Linked DNA regions of Homo sapiens: region 2 is linked to region 1. The links are contacts of gene promoters, found by promoter capture Hi-C in blood cells and fetal thymus (Javierre and others, 2016). All regions are on one chromosome and are shown on one strand. Each heading gives the region's core, a stretch centred on a gene start or on the middle of the fragment in contact. The rest is flanking DNA. Distances are from core to core; before and after follow the strand shown. Region 1 holds the start of CACNB4 (calcium voltage-gated channel auxiliary subunit beta 4). Region 2 overlaps FMNL2 (formin like 2).

Region 1 (6,709 bases), core at 3,744-6,243:
GTCCCTGTCCTTGTGGAACTCATACGGATGGGGAGACAGAATGTAACAGAGAAATCTAAGTACATGTTAAATAAAAGCGGTGGTGCTACTGAAAACTGGCACAAGGCCCTCTGGGAGCCCCTTGTTGGGGAACTGACTTTATCAGGAAGGTTAGAAGAGGAAGTGAAGACTAAACCCCCAGATCTCAGGGAAGATTAAAAGTTAACTAGGCAGAAGGAAGGACAACAACCTGCCACACAGAGGGCTCAGCATATGCAAAGGACCAGTGGCAAGAGGGAAGACAGTGTGTTCAAACTCTGTGTCCAGAGCTAAGAGATCATGGCTCAAGATGAGGCTGGAAGCAGGCAGGGGCCAGGCCAGGTATGACTTTGCTGGCCTCATAAGAGCAGACTTAACAAGGAAAAGTCAACAAACTATTCCCACTCTGATCAGATTTTCTCTTCAAACCCCAGTGGGAAGAGGACTAACTTGGAGTACTCAGCCGTATAAACTGTATGTGTAGTGACACCCATGGGTAGATATACTTATGGATATATAATAGATACTCGGGGTACATGGTCATTGAGCCCGCCCTCTCGTTCCTTGTTACATGTCACCGTACTGTTTGTAGACATCTCTGTCTCCATTGCTAGATTATAAAAATCTTTGAGTACAGGGGCTGTGTCTCATCCATCTTTTCATTCCTCCCCTACAATATCTAACATAGTGCTAGGCACATAGCAAATACTTAAGTGTTTCCTAAAACTTTAAAATATGACTAGATAATCCATTCATAAATAGCCTGTAAGAAGGGCTCTCCTGAAAGAAAATTCTATGGCCTCATTTGGAAAGCCACTCCAATGATGGCAACACTCTTAGGAAGGTCTTGCTGTAAAACATCATTCCTTTCTAATTTGGGCCAGTTCTTGAGTTTCATCCCCAATGAAGAGTGAGAACACTTCATCACATTTCCAAAGAAAGCCTTTGTGTGTACTTTGAAGATCATTTCTGGGTCACTCCTAGCTTTCTTTCCTTTCAGCGGCAAAGTACTTCATCTTCTCACCTTTCCTCAAAGAAGCCATTTATTTGCTCCCTGGATTCATTCCAAAACCTCCATCCCTCCTAAATGGTGGAAGCCAGAAATCTTGTAGACCAGAAACAAGGTCAAAGATTCCTGAGGGGCTTCATGAGCAGTCCTCAGAGTGGAAGCAGGCTCTCTTTCTCAGTCTGCTTGTTTTCCAGCCAATTCAAATGTTCATGTGTGTGCATGCACACATATGTGCATATATAGTCTCAGAAACACTGAAACTTTTTAACAAGCTCAAAGAACAAATATTGTCTTATTGGGTGAGTTGCCAACTGCCTTCTCTGCTTCACCAACAGCCCAGTCTTCCCCATCCAATGTAACACATCGATTTTTTTTTTAATGAAAGCTTTTCTCCATATTTTTGTAAATAATATGATAAAGAAACTAGCAATATATATATTTTTTGGTATTCCACTATCTTCTTCAAAGGCATCACAAAGACTGTGAAACAGCACCAAGAAATTTCATCACTCCAATGTATCAAGAATTCAAATATCAATAAATCACTGGTCATTCTACAAATAATGAGACTCTGTTTTTGTTTGTTTGTTTGTTTGATGGAGTCCTGCTCTGTCGCCCGGCTGGAATGCTGTGGAGCAATACTGGCTCACTGCAACCTCCACCGCCTAGGTTCAAAAAATTCTCCTGCCTCAGCCTCCCGAGTAGCTGGGATTACAAGCACACACCACCACGCTTGGCAAATTTCTTTGTATTTTTAGTACAGTCGGGGTTTCACCATGCTACCAGGCTGGTTTGAAACTCCTGACCTCAAGTGATCCGCCCACCTCAGCCTCCCAAAGTGCTGGGATTACAGGCGTGAGCCACTGTGACCAGCCCAAGGCTCTGTTAACGTAAGCAGCTGTTATGCTTTCATAAAAAATATTTTTTGGCATTGGGGTGATTTCAATTTTATCCGAAAGTTATTGTTAAACTGCATTTGTAATCATTTTCCTTATCTCATCAAAGAAATGTAAATCCCTCAGTTATTTTTATTGTAGCCAATACAGAAGTCTGTATGATGTCATTTGAATGAGATCATGTGTAGTATACTCAGTGAGTTGTAAAGTGCTCATAAAAATTAAGTAGCCCGGGCATGGTGGCTCACGCCTGTAATCCCAGCACTTTGGGAGGATGAGGTGGGCAGATCACGAGGTCAGGAGATAAAGACCATCCTGGCTAACACGGTGAAACCCTGTCTCCACTAAAAATACAAAAAAGTTAGCCAGGCGTGATGGCGGGTGCCTGTAGTCTCAGCTACTCGGGAGGCTGAGGCAGGAGAATGGCGTGAACCCAGGAGGCAGAGCTTGCAGTAAGCAGAGACTGCGTCACTGCACCCCAGCCTGGGCGACAGAGCAAGACTCCGTCTGAAAAAAGAAAAAAATTAAGTACTATTTTTGTGCCGAAAAATAAGATTGTGTATATAATACAATTACAATTAACTCCTGAATTTAAATTAGACCATTTAATCAAACCAATGAATTCCCATTTCATAGATGAAATATATTTATTTAAAAAAATCTACTTTGCTTTAAATTATTCCCAAAATTATTTAGCATGCAATACTTTTAACATTTCTTAAGCCAGCACATAGCAGCACGCTTTACAAGAACTTATATATACATCATCTCAATCAGTTACGGGCATAAATTGAGAAAAGAGTAAGAATATTAGAATATTATTTTGTTTGTGCTTGGAAGGAAGAATAAAGCATTAGTGCAGTTATGTAGATGAACTCAAAAGTTTTAGTCAAACAGCTTATGGAAAGAACTGCTGTGTAATTAGTATTTCCAAGAATTTGCAACAATGAAACACCACTAAAAATAGGCACCTACAAAATAAACACCAGCAAGACCTCAAACAGTTGCATAACAGAAAAATGTTTTTAAGATAAACAATATGTTTGCCTTATCAAATACATAATCTAAATACTGCAAAGGGGATAGAATGCACTTTTAGAATGAATTCGGAATCCAAAATGCATTTATTTCCATAATGTACATGCTTAGTGCTCGCTGAATTAAATGGTAGTCAAAATTTCCGCTTCTGCAGAAAGTGAAATTCTGCATAATAAATATCATCTAAATATGCTTTATAGACCCTTTTAGGAGAGGTCTGAGTTCAATTTTGATATCAATTCCTCGTTGATATGTTTAAATTGATGATAATCACTAAAGAAACACCAGAGCTGCCATCATAGGTTAGAAAACACATTACACAATACTGAGTGACCTAGAGGGAAAAGAACTTCTCAAGGTCACTCCAGCAGCCCACAGGAAGACCTGGGATAAAAGCCTCTTGGTGCGATGACCAATGTCTTCCTAGGTCACCCGAAACCTAGGACACACCCCGACAATTTCTGTTCCAAAGAAAGATCAAGGTGACTCATTGCATGATCTCTCTAGCACCCAGCAGCCAGGGGTGGTTTCATTAACAGCACATGGACAGTTGGAAAACTGAGGACCAATTTCCTGTGCCAAGGTGAAAGGCACCTAAGCATTGAGCATTACCAGCGATCCGGAGATCCCGAGCACAGACAATTCGCACTAGAACCACGCAGGAGAAAGCAAGCACTAAGAAAACAAACACGAAGTGAAGGCGCACCCAGACCCGGAGCTGAGTGCTGGCCTTCGTTAATTCCTATTTAACCAGATACAGCTGTCTTTCCCTAACTAAGCGAATCCAAGAAGCGGTCCTAAAGTGAGAGTAAACTTTCTGCTCAGTGTCTTTCTTTTGACCGGAGCTTGACGATCTCTCCCAAGATCCAGACAGATAAGAGTATTCAAATTAGGACAAAACAGAAGAAACCACTAAATCTCAACTCGAATCAAACCAGGTCCCCGGCCCCGAGGGGTCTGGTTACTCTAGGTCGAGTTATACGAATTAAAGACATTTCTCCACGCACCAAAGATACAACCAGACATATTTCCAGCTCTTAAATTCAACGTCCCTGACTTAAGCCAGGTCCCCACCGAACTGTCCACACACATGCACAAACTAACTTCCCGGGGCGGTGCGGAGACGCCGGGACGCGAAGACGTCAAGAGCCCAGGCTAGAGGGAGAGGGACTGAGCCCGAGCACCGGCCGAGGCCGGGAAGAGACGCGCGCGGGCTTGACCCGCAGCTCCCGCACGTGTGGGCCACGGCCGGCTCCAGGACCCCCGCGCCGCGCGCTCGGCCTCCTCCCCATCCTGGTCTCCCGCCTCCTTCTCATACCTGTCTGAGGATGAAGCTGGTCGAAGTGGTGCTGCCATCGGATCTTTTCAACCTGCTCCTCCGGGTTGTGGTGCCTCGGGCCACCTGGACTCGACACACGGGGGCCAGAGAGAAGCCGGTGAGGACCGCAGCGCAGAGCGGGGCGACCACCCCCGGCTGGAGTCCGCCTCCGGACCCGCTCCCTGGGGTCCCCTAGAGCCCGCACCCAAGTCTCCTCCGCGACTCCCAAATACAGCCCCCACCCCCACCCACCCACTGCAAGCCTCGACTGCTGAAAAGATGCTCGAGAAGAGCAGCCCGCAAGCACCCACCACATCCATTAACAAAGACTCTCAGGGTGCGGGGTCCGAGTCCCCGGCATCCGCTGGGGGAGGCTGCGGGCTCCGGAGCGGGAGCGCAGAGACCCGAAGGAGGGTGAGGAGGAGGAGGAAGAGAAGGAGGAGAAAGAGGAGGAGCGGGAGGAGAAAGGGACGTGGAGGAGGGGTGGGGGGAGCGGGGCCGCCGACTCCCGGGACTGGGGCCCCGCACGCCCGGCACGAAGGCGGGGCGCGCTAGGGCGGCGGAGGAGGTGTGAGGAAGGAAGAGGAGGAAGAGGAGAAGGGGGAGGAGGGGGCGGTACCTGCGAGGTGGGGGAGTGCGGCCCGTCCGCGGTCCCGTTCTTGGCGTAGGAGGAGGAGGACATCGTTCAGAGCCGCCGCATGGCCAGCCCGTGTGCGGTGGGCGGAGGGGGCTGGCCCCCGAGGCTGGGCTGCGGACGGAGGGGGAGGGCGCAGGACTTCCCCACCCGGCTCCAGGACCCGCGCCGGCGCCCAGGCTCCCTGCCCGCACTTCGGAGAGCGCGGCACCTTAAAGGGACCGAGGCGCTTCCCCCGCGCTCGCGGCGGGGTCCCGGGGAGGGGGCTTCTCGGAAACTCGCCTACCCGAGCGGATTGGGAGAAGCGCTCTCCCACCTAGCAAGCGCTTTACATCAGAGCTTCCAGAGGATGAAGGGAGGGGGAAATCTGGGATGGGGGTGGCAAGATTAAAATAGTCTGCACAGTTTAAAATGAGACAAAGGTGGCACGGTTCATGAATCAGGACTTGGGGACGGAAGCTGGTGCAGTGTGGCGGGAATGGGAAGAACCGAGCGGGTGTGTGTGTGTGTGTTTGCTGCACTGGAATTTTAAAAGGGCAAGAGCAGAGCCACCTTCCGCGACTTCACTCATCAGCCTAATGTGTAAGGCATGGGGTTTTGTGGCTTGCTTTTCGTCCGTGTTTTTGTATTGCTTTGGCAATTCTGTCCTTAGAGCTGCGAGTCACACACATCCAGGCAGCTGTGAGAAACCCAGCCAGCCTGAGTCTGACGGGAGATGCTGCCCCGCCAAAGACCAGTATGTCCTACGGAGTTTTGAAGGTCATGTTAGACCTGCTAAGAAGCAAGAGTTGGTCACTGTGCCTCCCATTTCTATGCGAATGGATATTTTCAAGGGGGAGAAACTCATCCTTGCAACCATACACAACGTTTGCCATTGGTTTCCTCCTGTAAATACATACAAGAGATTAATTTGTGATCAAATTAAAAGAGAGGGATTGCGGAAAGGAAGAATAAGTGCGAGGTATTGACAGAGGAATAAGAAGAGGGAAGAAAAGTATATGCAAATTCAAAAATAAAGAGACTCCGTTTAAATTAAAATATACTTACTATCTCAAATCGCTAAATCAGCTTGCATTCTAGGACTTTATGTTTATGGACACAACTACCATGCTTGTTTTAATAATTGCTTGGCTTTATTGAGGTCCTGGTTATATCTTACCATCCACCAGACACTTCCTTTCCATTCCTAATCCCTTCACTTAATCCAAACCTCTGTAACAATCTTATAACTAATGTCCTTGCCTCCAGGCTTCCTGGTGCATGTGCACGTATGCACATGCACACATACACACGCAGAGATTTCATTCCATCTACACACTACAGGCAAAACCATTTTCCTAAAATATCTTGCCCAAGTCACTCTTCTCTAAGATAAAGTCCAAACTCCATGGTCCAACAACTCAGCCTCTCCTGCATTTCTGATCACTCTCCATCTCATTTCTCCATCTTGATCTCTCTATACAAACCTTCCAGCAAGCAGGCAGGTCTAGTCATCAATACCCAAGTATTCCAAATACAATCACATTTGAGCTCTTCTGCTTTGGAATGCCTCCTTGGAATATGCCCTCCCAACAACCTACACACCCGGCTGAATCCTACCTTTCTTCTAAATGGGACTCAGCTCACGCTTCCTCCACAGAAATCCTATCTGACTACTCCAGTCCCACATAATTCTTGTGCTTCTGAAAAACTGGAGCATGTATTCTCTGGGCACTTAGAATAGGCTGCCTTAGCTTATTAGTTTGTTAGTTCTGTTTTTGTGAAAATCTCCTAATTTTCAGAATTTTTAGCGGTTT
Region 2 (7,075 bases), core at 2,149-4,648, 520 kb after region 1:
CCCCACCTCTCGCCTAACCTTCTTCCCCTACTGGAACCACTGTAACTAACCAGGTAAGATACCAAACACTCCAGTCTTTTCCACTACACAGATACCCCTCAGGTTTTATGTGGCCATGACTATAACCTGTTAAAGCTGCTTTTAATTTTTCTGTTGTCCCAATTTCATGTATATCAAAATGTTTTACATAGGAATATAACTACATGGGGCAGTAAGGATTTGGGGGAAAATGTGTGTGCATTTGGGAGAGCGTATTCACCCGAAAGTCATCTGATGATACTGCTTAGGCAGTCACTCCATAATTCTCTTAAGGAAGATGACATGTTAAGCTCTCTTGGAAAGGGCTGGACTATTTGTCGAAAAGAAAACACATAGACTGGCTGGGTGTGGTGGCTCACGCCTGTAATCCCAGCACTTTGGGAGGCTGAGCCGGGTGGATCACGAGGTCAGGAGATCGAGACCATCCTGGCCAACAGGGTGAAACCCCGTCTCTACTAAAAATACAAAAATTAGCTGGGTGTGGTGGCGCGTGCCTGTAATCCCAGCTACTTGGGAGGCTGAGACACGAGAATCGCTTGAACCCAGGAGGTGAAGGTTGCAGTGAGCTGAAATCATACCATTCCACTCCAGCCTGGGTGACAGAGTGAAACTCCATCTCAAAACAAAACAAAACAAAACAAAAAACAAAAAAGACAGACTCTTAGGAAATGATGTTCTATTTCCATAGATGAGCTAACACCACGTTCTCTCCTATTCTGGTTTTTAGAAGCTGAAACACACTGAGAGTGACAAGCTTCAAGTCCAGATCCAGGCTTACCTGGACAATGTTTTTGATGTAGGAGCTCTACTGGAAGATGCTGAAACTAAGAATGCTGCCTTGGAGAGGGTGGAAGAACTGGAAGAAAACATTTCTCATGTAACTATATCTCAGAAAAGGAAAAATTGCTTACATTTCAGCTGGTTGCAAAGCAGAATTAATGTCAGCTTTTATGGTGGTAAATTTAAGGATTTGGAGTATAGGAATAGGCCATACCCTGCAAGAGAGAGCTATCAGAAGCTGTTCTGTGTTTTTTCCAAAAAGCAGATGTGTTATGTAAAATGAAATAGAATCTGTTGCTTTGCTTTAGCTCACTTACCTGCTCAGTTTCTGCTGAGGTGCATTTCCTGGCAGTCTTGCTTACAGGCTCAAGCAGAGTGGGGGTGTTTGATGATTGGCATTACGTAAATGATTAGAGGGAAATTAAATATGAGAATTTGGCCTGAGGCGAAGAGGTATCTTCTTATCAACTATGTCCACACAAACCCATGGACAGGATTAGCTGGTGTCTCTGTGATGCATGTCTGAACATTCCTGTCTTACGGTACTCAAATTCTTAATAGAGTCATTTCAACAATAGGCATTTTCAAGGACATCGGTGTGCTTTCTCATATATCCTGTTCTTTGAAGAATGTCCTCAGTATCGTTGTCAGCTCTATCACAGGACAGGGTCTCATTTTTCTTTGAGGGATTTTTCTTGCCATAGACTGATTTGAATATGACTCTAAGGGCCTTTAGAGATTATTTGTTCATTCATTAACCACATATTTCAGTAGTAAAAGAATTAACAGAAAAATGGTGCTTCTCAAAAACCCAAGCATTATGAAGACCAAATTCTTTTGGTGAGTCTGGTGAGCACTTTCCTTGATTATGAAATGAAGTGTCTCCTTTTGGAGGATTATTATTTTCTCCTTTGAACAGTTCATTTATTTTTCTCCACATGTTTTTTAAAGAGTGCTGCATATGCTCAGTTTCCTTCACCTTTCCCCATCACTGTGAAAATGGGTCTCTTCATGGCTGTGGGTAAGCCAAGTTGGTGAGCCAAAAACCCTCCCTTTAAAAGTGCCGCTATGACCCAGCTGGCATCCGCTTAAAAAGAGAATTTTACAGGCCCAGTATATCTTCCCTTAGAAGATTTGTGTTATATGCTGAACCCAATCAGTGTAAATCTCCACTCTTCCTCCTTACCTTGCCTCCCTGGTTTTCTTTACTTGTAATGAATTTAAAGGAGATGTTAGAAATCAGAAGTTGCTCAGTGTTAGAGCCCTATGTGAAAAGCAGCTGTTTAACACATGGCTCACCCTGTCTTTCTCCTGAAGCCTCAGCCAACATTGCATGACCATACTTACATGTCCACTTTTGTAGCAGCAATCTATTTGAATGGCCTCCCCCAAATAACTTTTATTATTATTATTATTTTTGTGGGTTTTTTTTTTTTTTTTTTTTGGAGATAGAGTCTTACTCTGTCACCCAGGCTGGAGTGCAGTGGCGCGATCTTGGTTCACTGCAACCTCTGCCTCCTGGGTTCAAGTGATTCTCCTGCCTCAGCCTCCCTGGTAGCTGGGATTACAGGTGTACTCCACCACACCTGGCTAATTTTTGTATTTTTTAGTAGAGATGGGGTTTCACCATGTTGGCCAGGCTGGTCTCAAACTCCTGACCTCAGGTGATCCGCCCACCTTGGCCTCCCAAAGTGCTGGGATTACAGGCGTGGCAACCAACTTTTATTACTTGCATAGTTTGGTCAAACCAAGCAGTAGTTGTTTTTCAACTGGCTACCTAGATTGAAAGAACCAAGTTTACTGTGTTACCAATTTTCAAAAGCTTTAGGCTGATGGCCCTTTCTTGGCATGGAGTGGGGGATGGAGGTGGACTTTCCCTCCTCTTTCTCCTTACTTTCCTCTACCCTTGCTAGCCCCTGCAGAAATGGAGGGAGGCACACTGTGTATGTTGAACACTAAGGAGCAGACATGTGGGTCTTATTAAGAATCATGTCTAAGTTATCAATTCCTGGTAGAAGCAAATATGTATTCAGAACCATATTATAAACATTACCATTTCCAGAAAACAACTTGCGGAACACATGCAGGGCCCTGGTCCCTAATAATCTTGGAGCTGCACTTTCTGAGAACTGAGGGCTGATCAAGATGATCCTGTATTGTGACAGCTTTCTTTTCAAAATTTTACAGTTATCTGAAAAACTGCAAGACACAGAGAATGAAGCCATGTCCAAGATTGTGGAACTGGAAAAGCAACTCATGCAGAGGAACAAGGAGCTGGATGTCGTTCGGGTAAGTGTAATGATGACAACTGCCCAGATGGGCACGGTAGGGAATGTACTCCAGCTTTCGTCCAGTGGAACGCAGAGTACCTTCATTTCAGAGGAATGCATTGATGCAGCATATTTATTGGAAACCTTTGAGAGGTGATGCTCAGTTGAAAACTACACATAGTCGGCGTTATGTATACACATGTGTGTGCAATCAGATACTGGGGGTTCAGTATTTCCTTATCACAGATTTTGGGAGCAACAGTGTTTTCCCATCTGGAGGAGGCTGAGTTAATTCTGTGGAACACCCATTTGGTTGGAAATAAAAACACAGCATGGATTTAATTCATGCCACTTATTTATTTTTATTAGGACTTGAGCTTCTTTGTATTTTTTTGCTTTGCTTCCACTCAAAACCAGATTTGGTGGTTGCTGTGTAAACAGTGAAATACAACACAGGCTAGGCTTAATGGCATTCACCAAAAAAAGGGAGGGGATGTGCAAAGCAAACCCAATCCATTTTATTATCAGCTAATCCCAGCTATTTTATTTGGCCTTAGTATTGTTTACCTTATGTGCCAGGTATTTATGGAGTGCCATCCCTGTGCTTGGAATTGTGCTGAACATAAGAACACCAAAATGCCTGGAGAGCTTTAAGGCAAATGGCTTGCCTTTACACCACTGCTAATGAAATTGCACCTTTTATGTGATGGTTATCGTGTCTGTGTGTGTCTGATATCCTGACATGTCCTACAGTTCAGTCCAGGAAATATATTTTCTGGCACGCCTTCGAGACAGAGTTGTAGCATATGGACTCAATTCAACTTCAGACTCTTAGATTATTAGTAATAGACAGGGTGTGAAGAATGTTTCCCTGCTTGCTGGAGGTTTGTGGTGAGAGATCGCTTGTACAAGGCCCAGCAAGGAAGTTCAGTTCCATAAAACCCTTTCACTAGAACCTCTATGGGCCCCCCCCTTATAAAAGGAACCAGGACAGTCTTTGAATTGAAAATTGTAACTTCTTTGTTTTCTGCTAAAAAGCTAGACAGAAATAAGTAATTAGTGAAGGGAAGCTTTGGCCTGTTTTGTTAACCGCATTACCGATGGGAAAATGTTACAACAATCGCTATCCTGAGCTTGGTCAAGGGGGCGTTGTGAGGGCCAGAGAAAGCCATTCAGAAACAGTCAGCCCCTGGTTACTCATGAGTAGATTATTCCATGCTTTGCAGATTTTTAATCCCAGTCTGATTTGTATCCAAGTCTGATTTAGGGCCCTTTTGTCTATTGTTAGCTGATATGTGTATCTAAGAGTTACAAATGAATGTTAAAATAAAAGGAAGGAAAACATGCACCACCAGAACACCCTCAGGAGATTCCAGAGTCAGCATTCCGGGTCATTTCTGCTCTGTTTCTTTCCACCTGCAGGGAAAATTGAGTTAGCTGCATTTATTAAATGGAAAGAACTTCATTACCAACAACAATAGCTAGAATATATTACATGCATTACTAGCATACAACTAATAATTAATGGGACTTTATAGGTTCTAGCTGAATTCCAAAGAATTCCCATTCATATGAGTATCTTTTTTTCTCTTTATCCTCAGTTTGCCAATCTGATGCTACTAAGTATGAATGTTATGTGAAGATAAACTCTTGACCTTGGACTTTATTGCAGGAAATCTACAAAGATGCAAATACTCAAGTTCACACATTAAGAAAAATGGTCAAAGAAAAAGAAGAAGCAATTCAAAGACAGTCTACCCTGGAAAAAAAGATTCATGAGCTAGAGAAACAAGGGACCATTAAAATTCAGAAGAAAGGGGATGGGGATATCGCCATACTGCCAGTTGTGGCTTCTGGCACATTGTCCATGGGGTCAGAAGTGGTAGCAGGTAACTCTGTGGGACCCACAATGGGGGCCGCTTCCTCAGGACCCTTGCCCCCTCCTCCACCACCACTGCCTCCCTCATCAGACACACCTGAAACAGGTAAGAAGCCTTGGCAGGAGGACTGAGGAAGTTTTGGAATATTTGTATTTCTTCTTTTGCCAACTGTCCACTTCTGTCCTTTGTCCGTTTTTGTTGGCATGTTCTTTAAGAATTGGTTTTCTTGAGTAGTTCTTAACTGTTTACATTTTGAGATTAAATTTATAAATCCTCATTTCACATATGTTGAAATATTTTTCCCACATGTCAATGAGGACATTTTTTGGTTTTTGAAAACAGTCCTTTGTCCTTTTAAGTGTGTTGTTTTCAGATGGCTTTATATGCACATGGCTTATTGCAGGAAAGCCATTCCCGTATTTTCAAAGTCCATCTGTTTCTTTTTTCTTTGCTAGTGCAAAATGGTCCAGTAACACCACCTATGCCACCGCCGCCGCCGCCCCCTCCTCCACCTCCTCCTCCCCCACCGCCCCCTCCGCCTCCTCCTCTCCCAGGCCCTGCAGCTGAGACTGTACCAGCTCCTCCCTTAGCACCTCCCCTTCCCTCTGCACCTCCGCTGCCTGGAACATCTTCACCCACAGTGGTTTTCAACTCAGGATTAGCAGGTAAGAGCACAGAATTCAAACCCAGGTACTCATATCAGAAATGCTGTCTTATCTCGGAGAGTTGAAGCTATTCTTTCAAAGTCCAGGTCTCTTGCAATGATGTGTATCTCTTCCTAGTATAAGAAATTCCTGCTGATGTAGCCGATAGAGGGAACATCATCACGCATGGGAGGCACTTTGCTCTGAGTAGTCTTTGTCACAACCACACCCCACAATGGGAGGTTCTGATCTCCTACACCATCTTCCTGCCTTCCACTGGCCCCACCGAGAGAATGGAAGAGAGACAAGCTACCTGCTTGAGGATCAGTGCATTTTTGTGGGTTCAGCAGATACTTTCTGGACACCTGTAGTATTCAAAGCTCAGTATTAGGCACAGACATTGAGTGCTTCTGGATCTTTTTTTTTTTAAATGGTATTTTTGATGTCATCTATAAAAGGGAAACATGCTTTTATGTGTAATTGCCTGACGTAGGCTTCCAGGCATGTCTTCTGAGCATTCGAGAACATCAGAATTTGCTAGAGTGGATTTAAACTTCAAGGAGGAAGTGCTGCCAACAGCCGTATTATCATGCCTTAAAATGCTGCCAAATAATTCATGTCCTCTTGCCAACCAGAAGATAGAAAACAGCATCCTCACCTCACCAGAAATAAAATGGGAGGTAGGGGTTAGAGCAGGAGGAAGAGTCACTCTAATGCCTTGAAATCTAAGCTCTTTGTTTTGACTCACGGAAACAAAGATGACGCTACGAGCCGTTTTCTCAGTCCTGAAGTGTTTCCCTGGCATCTGGAATTGCTCTAAGCTTTGCCATCCCTGTGACGTGGGGTAATTCTGCCTCCTCATTTACTTCAGCCTGTTCATGAGGTCTCTTATTTACAATAAAGAACTACCACTCTAATAGCCTCCATTTCCAAGGCTGTGATAGTTCTCAGAGCCTTTTGCCCAAAGTCTAAAAGCCAGTCTTAGCTGTAAAGATTTCCCAATCTCCATCCCTTCCAGGATCCCATCTGCAGCTCTGCCAGCCGGTCACTGGGGCTCATTCATCCCAATGACTGGAGCCCTTTTGGATGCCCCAGAGTCACCTAGAATAAATTCACTCCACATCAAATCCATGGTTTTACTTCCACCCCGACTTCTATATAAAACTGTCAGGGAAACAAGATTCCAGTTCACAGTAAGGTCCACAGTAAATCGGTGACTTATTTCTACCCTTCAAGATCTTCCCCGTCTACCACTTTCTTCTAGAACTTTTATTACTTCTGAAGGAGAAAAGTTGGAGCAGAGTCATCGTGGAACTGATGGACTATGGAATATAAACAGACAAACAAGAAACCTCATATCAAGCCCCGGGAATGTGTTCCATCACCAGGCTGTTGTCAGTAACTGGGTGTGGAAACCCATTATCGTCCCGTGCACCTGGCCACCCTGATTAGGCACTCTTGG

What was found. The method cuts DNA at HindIII sites, captures the fragments that hold promoters and counts their contacts. A CHiCAGO score of 5 or more calls a contact.
Region 2: a fragment that was not itself captured here is called in contact with the fragment with the promoter of CACNB4 in region 1 in 3 of 17 cell types (fetal thymus, M1 macrophages and naive CD4 T cells); the score reaches 6.2 in fetal thymus.

What each region holds. Positions count from the first base shown.
Region 1 is chr2:152,094,051-152,100,759 of GRCh38, forward strand. CACNB4 (calcium voltage-gated channel auxiliary subunit beta 4) reads right to left here and starts at 4,994. Exons shown (of 14, transcript NM_000726.5): 1 at 4,899-4,994; 2 at 4,280-4,363. The coding sequence starts at 4,961. RefSeq lists a silencer at 4,903-5,192. The HindIII fragment of the contact is 7,735 bases long and covers 1,411-6,709 here.
Region 2 is chr2:152,614,085-152,621,159 of GRCh38, forward strand. FMNL2 (formin like 2) reads left to right here. Exons shown (of 26, transcript NM_052905.4): 12 at 767-916; 13 at 3,007-3,108; 14 at 4,762-5,074; 15 at 5,425-5,634. Among named protein-coding and RNA genes, the nearest start is that of PRPF40A, 100 kb to the right of the region's middle. RefSeq lists an enhancer at 4,133-5,332. The HindIII fragment of the contact is 1,518 bases long and covers 2,640-4,157 here.